2 separate regions of the Homo sapiens genome follow, and region 1 is linked to region 2. Evidence: promoter capture Hi-C in human tissues and cell types (Jung and others, 2019). All regions are on one chromosome and are shown on one strand. Each heading gives the region's core, a stretch centred on a gene start or on the middle of the fragment in contact. The rest is flanking DNA. Distances are from core to core; before and after follow the strand shown. Region 1 overlaps LOC105369309 (a long non-coding RNA gene). Region 2 holds the start of SSRP1 (structure specific recognition protein 1).

Region 1 (2,848 bases), core at 33-2,532, 200 kb before region 2:
ACTTCCTCCACATCAGTAATAAGGCTGTTTTGCTTCCTTATGATTCGTGTGGTCACTGGAATAGCACTTTTAACTTCCTTCAAGGACTTTTTTTTTTTTTTTTTTTTTGCATTCACAACTTGGCCAACTGTTTGGTATGACAGGCCTAGCTTTCAGCATATCTCAGCTTTTGACATTAGTGAAAGCTTTGGACATTCATGAAAGACATTAGTGAGCCTTGCTCACTAAGCTTAATCATTTCTACCTTTGATATAGAGTAAGAGACGTACAACTCTTCCTTTCACTTGAACACTTAGAGGCCCTTGCAGGGTTACTAATTGGCCTCATTTCAACTTTGTTGTGTCTCAGGGACTAGGGAGGTCCAAGGAGAGGAAGAGAGATGTTGAATGGCCAGTCAGTGGTGTAATCAAAACACTCACGACTTGTATGGATTAGTGTTGTATACGGGCATGGTTTGTGGTGCTCCAAAACAATTACAGTAATAACATCAATGATCACTGATCACAGATCACCGTAACAGATAAACAATAACGAAAAAGTTTGAAATATTGAATTACCAAAATTTGACAGAGACACACAGTAAACACATGCTGTTGAGAAAATGCCACCAATAGACTCGCTTGATGCAGGGTTACCACAATCCTTCTATTTGTAATGAAAACACAATATCTGAGAGGCATAATAAAGCGAAGCGCAATGAAAGAAGGTATACTTGTATGTCAGTAATAGCATAGAAGATGGGTTTAGATAAGTGCTGTCTTTCTGTTGTAAGATTCTTGCATTTCACAGGAAGTGATGCAATATTAGTTAAAGGTAGACTTGATAAATTAAGAATATGTATATTGCCTGGAGCAGCACTAAAAAAATACAAAAAAAATAGTTAAAAAGTCAATAGAGAAATTAAAATGGACAGCTACAAAATATTTGATTATCCCAAAGAAGGCAGGAAAGGAGGGAAAGAGGGACAAATAAACACATGATACAGAAAGCAGTCAAATACCAGTAAAGTATATTGAGAAACTGACAATATTATTAATTATTCTAAATGTAATAATATTGGGACTAAAGCCTCCAATTAGGCAGGAGAGACTTCTGGTTTGGCAAAATGAAGAGGTCAGCAAATCTTCTCCCCAAAAAGCAACTATATATACTAAAATCAAAACTGTCAAAAACAATGATTCAGAGCTCTGAAAATCAAACAGAGCCATACAGCAAATAAAGTTTGTATTCATGAAAAACTGCTAAATTTGGGATAAGAACTGCAGGAGTTTGTGGTATTCAAGCTTCAGACTGAAGCTGCTTTCATCCTCCCCATCCCCATCCAGCTTGGTCGGCAGGGTAGTTCTAGCCCAATGGGACTGGCTGTGAAAACCAGCAACTTGCTGCAGAGAGGACTCACTTGGTTTGGAATGGGAGGGAAAAAAAAATCCATATCCATCATCCCTGTCAGTAATGCTAGCAATCTTCGTGACCAGTAAACTGGGAAAGCCAACAACTCTACTAACCTGAGATTGCAGTCCTGGTGGAAGACTAACCAGAAAGTTAACAAGGAGATTCAGGAAACCAGATAGTCCTAAAGGGGCTTCACAGATCCCTGGTGCACGAGGATGCAGAGCACATGCAGAGAAGATGAAAGATGGCCTACCTGAGAGTAACGGCCAGGGCTGACCTGAAAACTTCCTGAACTTTGATAACCCACACAGATCTGATAGAAGTGTATGGAAGCCTCACTAGCTTGAGGTGTGTGGTAGGCAGAATAAAGTCCTCTCTTCCCCGCCCCCCCACAAAGATGTTCAGGTCTGATCCTATAACTTGTGACTATGTTAAGGGCATATGGGACTTTGCAGACGGGATGAAGGTTAAGGACCCTGAGATAGTTTATCTTGGATTATCCTGGTGGGCCCAATCTAGTCACAGGACTCTTTAAAAGCAGGCTTTGAAGATGGAGAACATAAGCCATAGACAAGCAAGGTTAATGCCGTCTAGAAATTGGAAAAGGCAAGGAAACTGATTCTTCCCCAGAGCCTTCAGAATGGAATGCAGCCTTAGCTGGGCACAGTGACACACCTGTAATCTCAGCACTTTGGGAGGCTGAGGTGGGTGGGTCGCTTGAGGTCAGGAGTTGGAGACTAGCCTGGCCAACATGGTGAAACTCCATCTCCACTAGAAACACAAAAATTAGCCGATATAGTGGAGGGTGCCTGTAATCCCAGCTACTTGGGAGGCTGAGGCATGAGAATCTCTTGAACCTGGGAGGCGGAAGTTGCAGTGAACCAAGATCGTGCCACTGTACTCCAGCCTAGGCAACGGAGCACGACAAGAAGAAGAAGAAGAAGGAGAAGGAGAAGGAGGAGGAGGAGGAGGAGGAGGAGGGGGAGGGGGAGGGGGAGGGGGAGGGAGAGGGAAGAGAAGGAGAAGGAGAAGAAGAAGGAAAAGGAGAAGAAAAGAAGAAGAAGAAGGAGGAGGAGGAAGAGGAAGGAGGAGGAGGAATAGGAAGGAGGAGGAGGAAAAGGAAGGAGGAGGAGGAGAAGGAGGAGGAGGAGGAGAAGGAGGAGGAGGAGGAGAACAAGGAGGAGGAGGAGGAATACAGCCTTGCCAATGCCATGATTTTAGCCCAATGATTCCCAAAGAGGACTAAAATAGTAAGTTTATTTTGTTTAGACACTAAGCTTGTGGTACATGTCAGCAATAGAAAAACTAATACAAGGTGTTTGATCACAACCTGTGACCAAACATCAGCTGACTCCTAAACTATGAAGAAAATAGAAGCAACCCCTAGGAATTCAGGCTTAAAATAAAATAGTTTTTTTACAAACTGAGGAAAGACATCAGTAGCAACACATCACAA
Region 2 (2,700 bases), core at 76-2,575:
CAGCCTGGATGTTGTCCACTTTGCCTGTCTTGCTATTCTTGAAGATGATGCCCTGACGGCTCAACCTCAGTCGACCATCATTCTGTAAGAAAAGCAGGCCCAGATGCATGGAGACAGTACACAGCATGTCCTGGGTTCTACAGCTCTACCTAACACACATTCCTGCTGCAAGTGGACTGGCCAGATTATCAATGCAGGAGCAACAGCTGAGGGTGCCAAGGAGTCTAGATTCTAAACCAGACTCTGGTATCTAGAACCCTTAACAGATTCTCAGTTTCCTCATTTGTAAAACAGGAATTGGGAACTGAACAGCATATACGGTCCCTATAACTCTGAGACTATCTCTCAGTATTGCCTTGAGTTGGTGGAGACACTAGGTACACATTATACTGAGTCTTCTTTTTCCAAAATAACGTTACCAAAGCAAGCTCTCATTAATGGACAAAAACTCTACCCTCCTTCCTTCTCTCTACTTGTATCACCTGTCCAAGCCATTCTCACCATGGAACCTTTCACCTCCTGATAGACGTCGTTGAACTCCAGTGTCTCTGCCATGTCGACCCCTGCCTGTGGTGGCCTGGGCAGAGCCCCAGGCTGCACAAGGGAAACCAAGTAAACTGGGAGCTGGGCCCCAACTCCTGAGTGGGTGTGCGGATGCTCAGCAGGTTGGGAATCTGAATTCAAGAGGAAGACAGATAAGCATGAAAGACAGCACCTCGCTGTGCTCACGGATGGAGCCAGGTAGCAACTCCCAGCTGCGCCTGGATGTCTCAGGATTTCCTCTGCCTGGAAACCTACAGACGGACGCTGCAGTGCCCGAGGGTCCAGGTCCAGGCCTGGGTGGAGAACCGGGCCCGGAATACCGCTGACACCCAACCCGACGCCCGCTCTGGCCGCTCCGGCGGGAGCCATGGCAACGAGCAGCGGAACCCCAGGGTCTGCCAGGAGCCCGCACATCGCACGCGACCCAATCCAGCTCAGAGTGCAGGGTTTCCCTCGCACCGCTCCCACCACCCCGCGGCCCCAGACCCACGGTTCACCCCCGCCCCACATAATGGATTCGCCCGCTCCCCGCGGTTGCGAACGCGGAATGGTCCATGTCGAGGGTCCCGTGGGGGAGCGGGGCCCCTGCCTTCCTGGGACCGGGGACGACCACCACCTACCTCCTCAGGCTGCGGCCTCGCGAGGGCCCCGGCGCGAGAGGTGGGCGCGCTGGGGGGACGCGGGGGGGGCGCGGGGAGGGGGATGGGGGGACACCGGGGAAGCTTTTCCCGCGTGCGCGGCCCCGCGTCCCGCCACCGGAAGCCGTACACAGGCCACAGAGAGGATGAGCTGGCTAGAGAGACGCGAGTCGGGCCCGCCTGCGAGACAGTCGCATAGAGCGTCAGCGACTCTGGAGGACCTGAGGGAAGGGTGGTTGCCGTGAAGCCTCTCTCACCCAGGGGGAATCCGGCCTAGAAAATGTGTGTAGGGCTCTTTAGAAACTACAGACACTTCTTCAGTCGAGACTAGATACTAAAGAGAAATTGTGTAGTTTTATTGTATCAGACTTAGTACAGGGGTGGGGTGGGGGTGTGTATTGGAATGATGCGTGCCCGTTTCTCTGCAAAATAGTTTCTATGTCATGGAAAGGAGTCGATGGGACAAGAAGAGAAGTATTTGAACAGTTGTGGGAGGAAACGACCTCTCCCACTGGCTGCGGAGAGTATGCGGGTGTTGGTGTCATCGTGGGTGCACTGCTTTCTGGCTGAACTGTCAAGTTCACTGTCTACACCCAAAATTTTCACATCCTTAACCGAAAATTATAGGTACCTCCAAGAGGCTGGCAAACGGCCTTATCCAGTTCAAGTCCTGGTGTCAGATTCACCTTGGAGCCAGAACTGATTTGAAACCACATCATCCTGTGGTTGCGGAAGCCAGGTCTCCCCCGTATAATCCCAGAGTGCATTTTGCAACATCAGAGACCAGACCTGGAAAAGATGTTTTAGTTTTTCTACCCCAACCTCCTTTTACTGATGGGAAAACTGAGACCCAAAGGGGAGTGAGTTGCCCAGGGTCTCAGTGCGTTGGCAACAAGGCTAGGTAGGACCCAGACCTCCTTAACACCACCAGTCCAGTTATCTTCTGTCATAATCACAGTGACTGTATGTTCAGAATGACTATTGATATGTGTCCTACATGAAGACATTAGTACAGAATATGTAAGCTCAAGATTTCCCTGACAATCAATACACCAGCTTGCTAAATCAATCCTGGGGTAAGAGACAACAGGAATGCACCCTTCTCCCCTGAACTCATAGCTTTAACCTCTGAGTAGTGGCTATTCCAGCATTATCTAGCAAAATAAATTCAACTGGGTTTAATAAATAGATATTGAGGGCCTATTACTACTTTAGCACACTTCTCAGATTTGAGGAAACTTGAACAAGGTGAAAACATCCCCGGCCAGGCACGGTGGCTCACACCTGTAATCCTAGCACTTGGGGAGGCCAAGGCAGGGAGATCACTTGAGGTCAGGAGTTTGAGACCAGACTGGCCAACGTGGTGAAGCCCCGTCTCTATTAAAAATACAAAAATTAGCCAGGCGTGGTGGCGGGTGCCTATAATCCCAGCTACTCAGGAGGCTGAGGCATGAGAATTGCTTGAACCCAGGAGGCAGAGGTTGCAGTGAGCTGAGATTGTGCCACTGCACTCCAGCCC

Evidence for each region. The method cuts DNA at HindIII sites, captures the fragments that hold promoters and counts their contacts. A contact is called where the count stands out against the background at its distance.
Region 1: a fragment that was not itself captured here is called in contact with the fragment with the promoter of SSRP1 in region 2 in 2 of the 25 tissues and cell types used here (stomach and thymus).

Annotation. Positions count from the first base shown.
Region 1 is chr11:57,134,435-57,137,282 of GRCh38, forward strand. The region is part of intron 6 of LOC105369309 (a long non-coding RNA gene); the gene reads right to left. Among named protein-coding and RNA genes, the nearest start is that of LRRC55, 46 kb to the right of the region's middle. The HindIII fragment of the contact is 4,484 bases long and covers 1-2,848 here.
Region 2 is chr11:57,334,567-57,337,266 of GRCh38, forward strand. SSRP1 (structure specific recognition protein 1) reads right to left here and starts at 1,326. Exons shown (of 17, transcript NM_003146.3): 1 at 1,164-1,326; 2 at 502-674; 3 at 1-82. The coding sequence starts at 555. It also overlaps a transcript of P2RX3 not described here. RefSeq lists enhancers at 495-564, 1,415-1,464 and a silencer at 1,065-1,244. The HindIII fragment of the contact is 12,890 bases long and covers 1-2,700 here.